Linked DNA regions of Homo sapiens: regions 2 and 3 are each linked to region 1. The links are contacts of gene promoters, found by promoter capture Hi-C in blood cells and fetal thymus (Javierre and others, 2016). All regions are on one chromosome and are shown on one strand. The core of a region is centred on a gene start or on the middle of the fragment in contact, and the rest is flanking DNA. Distances in the headings are between cores, read along the strand shown.

Region 1 (4,471 bases), core at 1,174-3,673:
TGAAACATAATGTAAGTTTGTCCTCCCTGCCAAATTAATTCTTTATCTACTCTGTTTCAAAAGGCTTCTCCCATCCCCCTCTTGAGGAAGACAGCCCAAAACTATTTTGCCACTTTGAAAAACCAGACGTGTCCAACAGCTGTCTACCATTCTACCTTACGGAGACCTCTTGGGGAGGTCATTGGTGTTCCAGTTTAGTGTTTTCCAAAGTATGTTCTGTGGAATAGTTGCTCTGCAAGTCATTGTACAAAAAAGTTTCACAGGAAATAAATGTGAGAAATGCTGTAAGTATAACTTTAACTTGAAGAGTCACAATATATATTTGCTTTCTAAAATTTCTGAAAAAAAGTCCTGCAGTAAAGAAATACATTTAATCAAGTATTTTACACACTTATTTGACCATGGGTCTCTTTCTTATGTAAAATGACATTTATTATCCCAAAGGATATACTGTGGTCTGCTCACTTGGCCCTAACCTTCTCAGCCCTTTCACCTCCTTTTAGCAATAATTCATGATTTGGAAGTTTGAATTGGAGGAAGTGCATTCTACGTGATGTAGAAAAAGCTGCTCTTATTTTATGTTGCTAAAATAGAGGTCATAAGCTGACAGAATGGACTCTTTGTGGTAATAAGATACCAAATTATAAACAAGACCTAAGGTGGTAGTAGGCAAGGGTTAAGTCCTACAGCCCCTACAGTTAAAGAATAAACTATTTTCTAACTGCCTCAAGGTTTTTCTTTTTCTCTATCAGCAAAACAAGCACTGGTCTCCAGATAAGCAATATTGAAACAATTGCAGCTCACTAACCACCAAACACTGACTAACTGACCTCGTGCTCCACAAGGCATAACTACAGCTCTGACTGGACAAGAGACTGATTTCAGTAACTTTCTTCTAAGAGACCACAGACCGGTTCTGGCTGATTCATAGAGGCTGAGCGTTGATTACTTTCATGTCCCTGCTTCACCTTTTAATGTGTGTGGCCTAAATTTGACTGTATCTTAATGTTGTCTCCACCCCAAAGTGAACATGTGTTGTATGTTACATACATGTTCATTCTGTGCATATGTATTGACTCATAAATATTCATAAGATTCTCCTATAACCTACTGAATATGTATGTATAGCTAATTTCCTTGGGCATAAATCTCAACCTCTCCCTTTTATCCTCTGAAGTGCCTGCTATTGGTCTCTGCCAGAGGCTAGCTTCTACCTGTCATGATGGCCACCCTGCAAGCTGCAACTCGTTATAAGAAATAAAGTCTCCTCTCCAAATTTAAGATCTCATGATTTTAAGCTGACAATGCCTATACATGAAATAACAGAAGTCAGACCTATAAACAGGTTATCAAAATAAGGTACAGTAAATGCATGAGGTACTAGAGACCCATAGATTATCCCACTCTATTGAGCTGAGCGTCCCGTAAACCTCTAAGACAGGCTATGCAGATACGACAGGTCCTGATTTTATAGTCATTGAAGCTATGGCGATCCCCATTAGCGCAGAAGCGAGTCCTCTCTCACCACCACGCTGCCTCCTGAAGGTGGTCAGGTGAGGCTCATAGTTACTCAGTGTGCAGCCAAGGCTAACGCTTGGCTCCATCAATCCTGAAGTCCCACCTGATTGCCCAATGAAAGATAAAGCTCGGGGGGGCTGAGAAATAATACACGTGAACTGAAGGGCAGTGTAATGTTCCCCTCAAGGGGAACATTATTGCTTTACAAGCGTGGATTCTTTGTTCTGAACCCTAACTGTAAACTAGGAATTGGGGCTGAGAGCTTCTTCCATTTACAGCCCTAGGCTCTGCTCTGCATCCAAGCTCCGCTTCCTAGAAGTGCTGCTTATATTATTAACCAGGCTGCAGCCGGAATTAGCCAGAAACCACACTGTCGGCTCTGCTTTGCGGAAGGAATAGGAGCGAAGGACGAGGCTGCCCCCCAGTGGGAAACCCACAAGAAGCAGCGACGCTTCCAATCAGCTCACAACTTTCAGTATTGCAAGGAGAGGAATGGGCTCCGCATTTCCAGCTCCAAGCACTCCATTTCAGAGCCGCTGGGGAGGATTTTGGGGTGCAAATTCTTTTACCATTACGGGGTAGTGGTATGGCGTTGAGAAATAAGAATAGGCGAACCTCGTATCTACCAATCTCCCAACTCTATAAACGGCCCCTGGTTAAATCCAGATTCCGGATCCTGGCTGGGAGATTTTGATTTAGCAGGGCAGGAGTGGGAAACTAGGGAGGGTTTGGGTTTTAAATCAGCGTAATTCTGATCATCTGGCAAATTTGAATATTCTGCGCTGGGAGGCGACTTTCTGCTTCACTTTCCCAGAACCCGGGCAGGGGTCAAGCCCTTGCGAGTCAAGGGAACCCAGGAGTTGCTCTCTTACCTTTGTATTCCCGCAGCCTCCAACTGCAACTCCGGCGTCGCCCGGGCAGCCCGACCCAGCCAACCTGCCCAGGATCCGCCCATCCGCCGCGATTTCCATGGCGACCGATGGCGCCGCCTTCCGCAGCCTTAGGGCGGGGTAAGCGGGGGACCTAACTCTCTGTCCAGGCACTCAGTGCCCGACCTGCAAGTGGGGACGGAATTCTCGTCCAGGACAGTCAGGCTAAGAAGTAACTTTTATTATTATTATTATTTATTACTTTGAGTACTTCTTGCGCCCATTATTAAAAATTAAGTGTTTCTTTTTTGTTTTTGTTTGGTTCGGTGGGTAGAATATATGTGACATGTTTTTCTAGGATTTTCTTCTTAACATTTTATCTTCAGATTCAAATGCTTTGGACAGACTCACCGACTGCCCGGCTGAGAGAATCTGTGAGGTCTACCTGCCTAGCAATTTGCCTTTGCACGGTCCTCCTGTGAGGAGTGAGGACACACAGGTATGTGGCTTCTGTAAATGTCCACGCTGGGATAGTTCCCAGACCGTCGACTTTCTGTCCCTTTCTTGACTGTCCAGTCTCACCTTTCTCTCAAACACTGCTGCTTCAGCCGAATCCAGATGTGGGAGGCCAGGTTCTCAGGTGGCCTGGTGGGAATGCAAGGGCGGTGCTCTCAGAAACATCTGGGGGCGAGCTTGCCACTCAGAAGCAGGGAAAACTGTTTCAGCTTTCTTTATGAGAGAGACACACCTGGCTGGAGGTGCTGGTTTTTCTGCTTGACAACCCTGAGGCCTGGGCATACCTCAGAGGTGCTTCAGGTAGCTTGGTCAGCATGTTTCAGCTAGTCAGGTCCTACCCCCACGGTCTGTGGGCTTTTAGTTTTGGAGTGGGTATGATGGAGTCCTAGGACCCTGGATGACCTCACATTCAGGGTGCTTTCTTGGGGGCAGTTTGGCTGTTCAAGCTGGCTGGAGGCCAAATGGAAATCTAGACATCTCAGAAAACTGGTTGATATGCTGGGTTAGTGAGGATGAGGGAGGGGAGTGTTGTTTTACTTTTCACAGTAACCCAAAAGAGTTACCATCTATTACTATCTCCATTTTGTAGAAGAGGAAAGGGAGGCGCAGAGAATTTCAGAAACTCCCAGGATCTGGCTTCCACGTGCACACTTGGTACTTTGAATTTAGCTTAATTTTCTTTTTCCCTAATGGAGTGTTTATTCATGCTACCTTTCACCCACTCCTATTAATCTAGCCAAATTCATTCACTCATTTATCAGTAAGCTGTTTCATTTCTGCCCCCTCCCCTGTCACTGTAGTTCCACAGGACCAGAGACAACCACATGTGTTTTATGAAGTTATGTATCTGGCATGCAATTAGGCTCCAAGGAAAGTTTGATGAATGGATAAAGAGCAAAAGACAGTGAGTGCCTCAGAGTTTTTGCATTTATTGGATAAATTAGGAGGAGAAGGAAACATAAGTAACATTTATAATTACCTTTTCTGGACCAGACACCTAAGATATTTTATCCCCCTTTATTCCTGTACCGTGAGATAGGAAAAGTTTAAGACCCACTTCCCCACCCCCCAACTCTATTTTTATGAATGAGGAAACCGAATGTATTAGTCTGTTCTCACATTGCTGATAAAGACATACCTGAGACTGGGTCATTTATAAAGAAAAATAGGTTTAATGGACTCACAGTTCCACGTGGCTGGGGAGGCCTCACAATCATGGCGGAAGGCGAAGGAGGAGCAAAGGCATGTCTTACATGGCAGCAGGCAAGAGAGTGTGTGCAAGGGAACTGGCCTTTATAAAACCATGGTAGTGAGAAACTTATTCACTACCATGAGAACAGTATGCGGGAAACTGCCCCCATGATTCAATTACCTCCCTCTGGGTCCCTCCCATGACGTGGGGATTATGGGAGCTATAATTCAAAATGATATTTGGGTGGGGACAAAGCCAAACCATATCATTCTGCCCCTGGCTTCTCCCAAATCTCATGTCCTCACATTCTGAAACCAATCATGCCTTCCCAACAGTCTCCCAAAGTCTTAATTCATTTCAGCATTAACTCAAAAGT
Region 2 (4,212 bases), core at 34-2,533, 330 kb before region 1:
GATGTACAAAGAAGAGGTGGTACCATTCCTACAGAAACTATTCCAAAAAATTGAGGAGGAGGGACTTCTCCCCAACTCATTCTGTGAGGCCAGTGTCATTTTGATATCAAAGCCTGGCAGAGACACAACAAAAAAAGAAAACTTCAGGCCAATATCCTTGGTGTACATTGATACAAAAATCCTCAAGAAAATACTTGCAAACCAAATCCAGCTGCACATCAAAAAGCTAATCCACCATGATCAAGTAGGCTTCATCCCCAGGATGCAAAGTTGGCTCAACATACAACAATCAATAAATGTGATTCATCACATAAACAGAACTAAAGCAAAAACCATATGATTATCTTAATAGATGCAGAAAAGGCTTTTGATAAAATTCAGCATTGCTTCATGTTAAAAACTCTCAATAAACTAAGTATTGAAAGAACATACCCCAGAAAAATAGATCCATCTATGACAAACACTCAGCCAACATTATATGGAATGGGCAAAAGCTGGAAGCATTCCCCTTGAAAACCAGCACAAGAGAAGGATGCCCTCTCTCACCACTTCTGTTCAACATAGTATTGGAAGTTCTAGCCAGAGCAATCAGGCAAGAGAAAGAAATAAAGGGTGTACAAATAGGAAGAGAGGAAGTCAAACTACCTCCTTTTGCAGACAATATGATTCTATATCTAGAAAACCCCATAGTCTTGTCCCAAAATCTCCTTCAGCTGACAAACAACTTCAGCAAAATTCCAGGATACAAAATCAATGTACAAAAATCACTAGCATTCCTATACACCACTAACAACCAAACTGAGAGCCAAATCAGAAAGACAATTACATTCACAATTCACACATGAATGCACACACACACACACACACACACACACACACACACACTACCTAGGACTACAGCTAACTAGGGAGGTGAAAGATCTCTACAATGAGAATTACAAAACACTGCTCGAAGTAATCAGAGAAGATGCAAACAAGTGGAAAAACATCCCATGTTTGTGGATAGGAAAAATCAACATCATTAAAATGGCTATACTGCCCAAAGCAATTTACAGATTTAATACTATTTCTATCAAACTACCAATGACATTCTTCACAGAACTAGAAAAATTACTTAAAAATTTATATGGAACCAAAAAAGAGCCCAAATAGCCAAGGCAATCCTAAGCAGAAAGAACAAAGGTGGGGGAATCATGTTACCTGATTTCAAAGTATACTACAAGTCTACAGTGACCAAAACAGCATAGTACAGGTATAAAAACAGGGACATAGACCAATGGAACAGAATAGAGAGCCCAGAAATAAGGCCACACATCTACGACCATCTGATCTTTGACAAAGCTGACAAAAACAATGGGGAAAAGACTTCCTATTCAATAAATGGTTCTGGGATAACTGGCTAGCCATATGCAGAAGATTGAAGCTGGACCCATTCCTTACATCATATCTAAACGTCAACTCAAGATAAAATAAAGACTTAAATGTAAAACCCAAAACTATAAAAATCCTGGAAGACAACCTAGGCAATACTATCCCGGACATAGGAATGGGCAAAGATTTAATGATGAAGATGCCAAAAGCAATTGCAACAAAAGTAAAAATTGACAAATGAGACCTAATTAAACTTTAGAGCTTCTGCACAGCAAAACAAACTATCAACAGAATAAACAGACAACTTACAGAATGGGAGAAAATATTTGCAAACTATGCATCTGACAAAGGTCTAATGTCCAGCATCTATAAGGAACTTAAACAAATTTACAAGAAAAAAAACCAACCCTATTAAAAAGTGGGCAAAAGACATGAACAGACACTTCTTGAAAGAAGACATATATGTGGCCAACAAGCATATGAAAAAAATGCTCGATATCACTGATCATTTGACAAATGCAAATCAAAAGCACAATGAGATAGCATCTCACACCAGTCAAAATGGCTATTATTAAAAAGTCAAAAAATAACTGATGCTGGCAAGGTTGCAAAGAAAAGGAAACTCTTATACGCTGTTGGTGGGAGTGTAAATTAGTTTAACCATTGTGAGAAGCAGTATAGTGATCCCTCAAAGAGCTAAAAGCTACCATTCAACACAGCAATCCTATTACTGGGTGTATACCCAGAGGAATATAAAGCATTCTACCATAAAGACACATGTACACAAATATTCGTGGCAGTACTGTTCACAATAGCAAGGACATGGAATCAACCTAAATGCCCATCAGTAACAAACTGGATAAACAAAATGTGGAACATACACACCATGGAATATTATGCAGTCATAAAAAAGAACAATATCATATATTTTACAAGAATATGGATGGAGTTGGAGGCTATCATCCTTTGCAAACTAATGCAGGAACAGAAAACCAAATACCACATTGTCTCACTTACAAGTGGGAGCTAAATGATAAGAACTTATGAACACAAAGAGGGAAACAAAAGACACTGGGGTCTTCTTGAGGGGGCAGGTTACAAGGAGGGAGAAGGGCAGAAAACACAACTCTTGGGTACTGGGTTTAGTACTTGGGCGATCTAGTAATATGTACAACAAACCCTCATGACACATGATTATCTATGTAACTTTCACATGTACCCTCAAGCTTAAAATAAAAAAAAGAAATCTGTAACAGATTGTGATCAATTAGTTGTAAATACTACTGTACTCAGACCAGACAATAGACTATTTTTTAGAGCACTTTTAGGTTTACAGAAAAATTGTGCAGAATGTACAAAGAGTTTCCAGATAGCCTACCCGTTTCCTCAGTTTCCCCTATTTTAACACCTTGCATTAGTGTGGTATGCTTGTTACAATGGATGAAAAAATATAGACACATTATTATTAACAGAAGCCTATAGTTTATATTAGGGTTCGCTATGTATGTTGCACAGTTCTATGGGTTTTGACAAATGCATAATGTTAGGTATTCACCACTGGAGTATTATACAGAATAATAGTTTCACTATTCTGAAAATGTACTCCACCTATTCATCTCACCCACTCTCCTGAACTCATGGTAATTACTAATCTTTTTACTGCTGTTTGCATAGTTTTGCCTTTCCTAGTATGTTATACAGTTGGAATAATACATTCTGTAGCCTTTTCATATTGGCTTCTTTCACTTAGTGATATGCATTTAATATTCTTCCATGTCTCTTCATGACTTGATAGCTCATTTCTTTTAATCATCGAGTATTATCCCATTGTATGGAGATACCACAGTTCATGTATCCATTCACCTATTAAAGGACATATTGGTTGCTTCTAATTTTTGGCAATCATGAATAAATCTGCTATAAATGTCTGAGTGCAGGTTTTTGTATGGACAAAAATGTTTTCAGCTCATTTGCATGAATACCTAGTTGCATAGGTGCTACATTATATGCTAAGCTTATGTTTAGTTTCATAAGAAACTACCAAACTGTCTTTCAAAGTGGCTGTACCATTTTACATTTCCACCAGTGATCAATGAGAATTCCTCTGCTCCACGTTCTCACTAGCATTTGGTATTGTCAGTGTCAGTTTTGGGTCTTATCCATCTAACTGGTGTATCACAGTATCTCATTGTTGTTTTAATTTGTAATTCTGTAATGAGATATGATGTTGAGTATTGTTTCATATACTTATTTGCCATCAGCATATCTGCTTTGGTATTGATTTCTAGTTTTATTCCACTGTAGTCTGAGAAGATATTTGATATAATTTTGATTTTTACACTTGATCTTAGCCAAAAGACTGAGAAGTGATATAATTTTGATTTTTAAAAATTTATTGTGACTTGTTTTGTTGCTTAAAGTATGGTCTATTTTGAAGAATTGTTCATGTGCAGATGAGAAAAAAATGTATGTTTGGCAGTTGTTGGGTAGAATGTTGTATAAATGTCTGTTAGGTCCATTTAATCTAGAGTCTGATTTAAGTCCAGAGTTTCTTTGTTGATTTTCTGCCTCAATAATCTGTCTAGTGATGTCATTGGATTGTTGAAGTCTCTCACTATTATTGCATTGCTGTATACTTCTTTTCTTAGGTCTAGTAATATTTGTTTTTATGAATCTGAGAATTCCATTGTTGGGGGCATATATATTTAGAATTGTTATATCTTCTTGATGAATTGATCACTTTATTTTATAATGATAGGGACAAACAGTAAAAGAAGACAACTTTAAATCAATACTTTCAGACACTTTAAATCAACAACAGTAAAAAAAGACAAAGAAGGT
Region 3 (4,561 bases), core at 603-3,102, 430 kb before region 1:
TCTTTCGCGCAGTTTTTGGAGGTGTGTGTTCTTCCTTATACAGTGAGCAGTCAACCCAACTTGTTCAGGGCAGATTGTGTTCCTGTGTTATCTGGTCTGGAGCTGCATAGTTGTTGCCCTATTCAGATAGTGTGTGCATTTTTAATTTTGTCACAGTCTTCAGTCTCCCATATCCCACTAGTGTTGGTCACATTCTTTGGCCATCAAATTTGCAAGTCTTGCCATGGACTGTCATGGGTTGAGGGCATTTCCTTAGGCACCATCTGATTGGGTCCCTGATTAAGGTATGTGTTAGATACTCAACATCAGGTCTGGGGTCCTCCTAAGTGATGACCAGTGACTTCAACCTCCCACAAAGTGGACTTCAATTTGCACAGCATCCAGGGTAGGTTGCTGGGGGGAAACTCTGCTGGAGGGAATGATGATCATCAGGAAATCAGCACCAGCTCACATTTCACACATGAGATTCTGTGAAGCTGGGCTGAAACAACTCCACACACTGATGCTCAACACAGCTTATTGGCTGAATGCCTAATCAGATCCTAATTCCGTGGTAATTGCTGGCCCATGATACAGTTAATACCCTGATCTTGAATATATCTTTGATCAGATATATTCTGAACAGATGTGCTGTTCAGTGAAGGGATAATAAACTTGCATATTACAGTTTCAGAAAATTAAAATCCCTGGTGGATGGTGTCTTTGATTAAAGTCAGCTTGTTATAGTTTCCTCCTGGTTCTTGTACTCTGTCCACTGAAAAATAGTTTGCTTATCAGAGCAGACTCTAGAGAGGCACAGGATGTGAGCACTGGACCTTGGCAGCATCTAGTGACATCCCCTAGGGCTGCCTTATCTGTGTCACCCAGCTAGTTTACGCCAGTGCTATGCCTTGAGCCCATGTTTTTCTGGGTCCTGATTCCAGAGCCGGCTGCTCAGCTGATTGCTGGGTCATCCCATGCTTCAGGGACCTCATCCTAGGCTCTGCCTGATGTAACCTGCCCAAGGGCTGGGGAAAGGGGTGTGGAAAGACAGAGACTCGGTGGGGAGCTAAGCTATCAGAGCCAAAAGACTTCATTCTTACGAGGCAGGTGATACCCTCATTTTACAGGAGAGAAAAATGTTTAATCTGAAATTTTTCTGGTGGTGGGAATGGAGACTTGGGCGGGGGTGGGGTGGGGTGGGGGCGGGTGGAGAATCCTCCCAGAGGAGAAGGTGAATCTTTTATCTCCATCCATTTTGAGCCACTGCAAACCATCTGGCCCTTCTTCCCTGGGTTCTTTGTGCTTGCTGGGTCTCTCCCACCCCGGCCACCAGAGGGCAGTACCGGTCCACACCTCGGTCTCCCCGGGACCATGTTTGGGAAGATTAGAACAGTGCTCTCAACCCACCAGACTCCTTTTCAACACCTGCTTTTTAACAACTATTTTCCAATGCCCCTTTACTATCACAAAATGAGATTGCTAACAAAACGTACCTAAGCAATTAATAAACATAATGCCTTAGCTCTAATGTAAAGGACACATGAAAGTACGAATAAGGGCCGGGCCTGGTGGCTCACGCTTGTAATCCCAGCACTTTGGGAGGCCGAGGCGGGCGGATCACGAGGTCAGGAGATCGAGACCACGGTGAAACCCCGTCTCTACTAAAAATACAAAAAATTAGCCGGGCATGGTGGCGGGCGCCTGTAGTCCCAGCTACTCGGAGAGGCTGAGGCAGGAGAATGGCGTGAACCTGGGAGGCGGAGCTTGCAGTGAGCCGAGATCGAGCCACTGCACTCCAGCCTGGGTGACAGAGCGAGACTCTGTCTCAAAAAAAAAAAAAAAGTACGAATAAACTTTCAGTGTGTACTGCTTGAGCACGACTACACTAAATGAAAACGATGGAGTCATTATGTGCTTGTGCCCATTGTGGGGTCACCCCTGAAAGAATGCAAGTGCATGTGGGTATGTTGTGTCGGTGACAAACACATCGTGATTTTCTAAAATGGTAAACAATTCTTGGTAAAGTTAAAAAATAAAATGGGGGCCAGGCACAATGGCTCACGCCTGTAATCCCAGCACTTTGGGAGGCTGAGGCGGGCAGATCACTTGAGGTCGGGAGTTTGAGACCAGCCTGGCCAACATGGGGAAACCCCATTGCTACTAAAAATACAAAAACTAGCCGGGCGTGGCGGCATGTACCAGCTACTCGGGAGGCTGAGGCAGGAGAATCGCTTGAACCTGGGAGGCGGAGGTTGCAGTGAGATGAGATTGGGCCACTGTACTCCAGCCTGGGCAACAGAGTGAGACTCTGTCTCAAAAAAGGAAAAAAGAAAACTCTCTTCAAACCCAGCACTCATTGTTAGGTGTCAAGTGCATGGGAGCTGGACGCAGACCTACTCTCCAGCTCATAGACTTTCTCCAAGTGTGATGGTGGGGAGGCGCCTGTGCTGGGGTTGCGGCCCTCCTCACAGTGGTGCATTAACTGCATTGATTTTTTTTTATTGAGATAAAAAATTGCCAGTATCAAAAAATGGCAGATAAAAATTTGTACACCATAAAATTCATTTGAAAGTGCGCATCAGTGGATTTAGTGTATTTTACTGTGCTATGCAAACATCACTACTATTGTGTAACTCCAGAATATGTCCATCACCCGCAAAAGAAACTGTGTACCTGTTAGCCAGTCCCAAGTCCCGCCTTCCCCATCCCAGGCAACCCATCCGTCTGTCTCTGTGGATTCTTCTATTCTGGACACCTTTTCCCTTATCTCTCTGTGTGTTCACTTCGTCTGAATGCCTCATTGACTATTCCCTGCTGTTACACCAAGAGAAACACTTGAGAGGCACACCCATCTCTTTGGTCCCTTCTACCTGCTACCTGCGATCCCTGCCAAATCAGCCGCTTTACACACTTGGGGGTTAGGTGCTCCCCAGCCTATCACCAGCCCAAAGCACCACTTTAGAGACTGCACTTCATCCCTGGCCTTTCGTGAGTTGTCCAGTGGGTCTTTGGCGAGAACTAATCCAGTCCTAAACTTCACCTTCGTCAAGATTCCCCCAGCTGCTGCCATCTAAGTGGGCTCAGCATGAGCAGGGGATCCAAATGGGGTCCTGGTTGTCAGACCTTACCCTGAGGCTCCCACCCCTGGCTGCTCACCAGAGTCAGTTGTGGAGCTTTCAGAGGTGAGACCAGGGCCCCTCATGACAGACACTGCTTCAGTGGGCTTGGAGGAAGCAGGAACAGGTCTGTGCTTTTCAGTTCCCCAGGTGACTCTTAACAAGCAGTCGAGGTTGAGAATCACTGCCTTCCTCAATTTTTCCTGTTTCCTGTCACCATGACAAAGGGGAGGCCAAAGGCTAGTCCAGCTGTGGAGCAGCTGTGGGGGTCTTTAGTCAAGGAATGTGCTTTGGCATTCATTATGGGGAGAGAGCTGGGACAGGGGCACGATCCAGCCAGAATGGATGCTTCTCAGCAGTTCTAAGTCCCCATGGTCAAGGGCCTTGTTGCGTCCTTTCTGTCCCAGGACTCTAGCTGGTGCCAGAGAATACGCGATGCCTTATCTTTCACCCCAACTGGAACCACCTGACAGCCAGGGCTTTGTGTCACAAGCCTCAAACCCTCCATGGTGCCTGTCACATACAGTCTGGACTCACTACTAAGTACAATGGATTGGTTGATTTCTCCCTCCACACGGCAGGGGGACTTACCCAGCTGGGATGTGTTAATTTGACAACTTCAAGTGCCTGGCCCCCAAATATGAGGGTTGATGTAAACCAAAGCCAGCCAGAAGCTACTCCAAATATCTTGGCAAAGAGAAAAATCAAGGGCTCCACGTTTTCTTAGGCAAGGACCATCCACCAATACAGCCCTTTTATTCCACTGGCATGTGATTTCCTTCCTTCCTTCCTTCCTTCCTTCCTTCCTTCCTTCCTTCCTTCCTTCCTTCCTTCCTTCCCTCCCTCCCTCCCTCCCTCCCTCTTCCCTTCCCTTTCCCCCTTCCCTCTCCCCTCCCCTCTTCTTTCCCTTCTTCCCCCTTCCCTCCCTCCTCCCCTCCCCTCTTCCTTTCCCTCTTCCCCCTTCCCTTCCCTTCTTTCTTTTCTTTCGTGATGGGATCTCTCCATTGCCCACGCAGGAGTACAGTGATGCAGTCATAGCAAACTTCTTGGCTCAAGCAATCCTCCAACCTCAGTGCCCCCTGAGTAGCTGGGACTACATGTGCATTCCACCATGCCTGGCTAGTTTATTTTTTTCACAGACGGGATCTCGCTATGTTGCCCAACCTGGCCTCAAACTCCTGGGCTCAAGTGATCCTCTCTCTTGGCCTCCAGGGTCACTGGGGTTACAGGCACAAGCCACTGCACCTGGCTGTAGTTCTTGAGTCAAGTATGACATATGCTGGTGAATAGAAACAGGTAAATTGGTTCTAAAACTCAATCTCTGGCCAGAGCTAACCAGTGGGCCCACAGGGTGGCCAGGTCCTGTGGCCCTGGTTGGGACAGAAGGATAAAGCATCTTCCTGGAGTACGGGGAAGGGCTCAAACCTGGCCCATGTTGGTCAGATTTTGGCCTGCACAGCTGG

The links. Contacts are between HindIII fragments. The CHiCAGO score rates a contact against its expected background, and 5 or more counts as called.
Region 2: a fragment that was not itself captured here is called in contact with the fragment with the promoter of FRMD3-AS1 in region 1 in 1 of 17 cell types (endothelial precursors); the score reaches 5.1 in endothelial precursors.
Region 3: a contact is called between a fragment that was not itself captured here and the fragment with the promoter of FRMD3-AS1 in region 1, in 1 of 17 cell types (monocytes). The highest score is 5.1, in monocytes.

Annotation. Positions count from the first base shown.
Region 1 is chr9:83,217,297-83,221,767 of GRCh38, reverse strand. It overlaps FRMD3-AS1 (FRMD3 antisense RNA 1), which reads right to left and starts at 2,423. Exons shown (of 3, transcript NR_184120.1): 1 at 2,391-2,423. It also overlaps a transcript of RASEF not described here. The HindIII fragment of the contact is 11,674 bases long and covers 1-4,471 here.
Region 2 is chr9:83,547,361-83,551,572 of GRCh38, reverse strand. It overlaps a transcript of FRMD3 not described here. Among named protein-coding and RNA genes, the nearest start is that of FRMD3, 11 kb to the right of the region's middle. The HindIII fragment of the contact is 2,633 bases long and covers 1-2,599 here.
Region 3 is chr9:83,646,056-83,650,616 of GRCh38, reverse strand. No RefSeq gene overlaps it. Among named protein-coding and RNA genes, the nearest start is that of IDNK, 25 kb to the right of the region's middle. The HindIII fragment of the contact is 6,539 bases long and covers 1-4,561 here.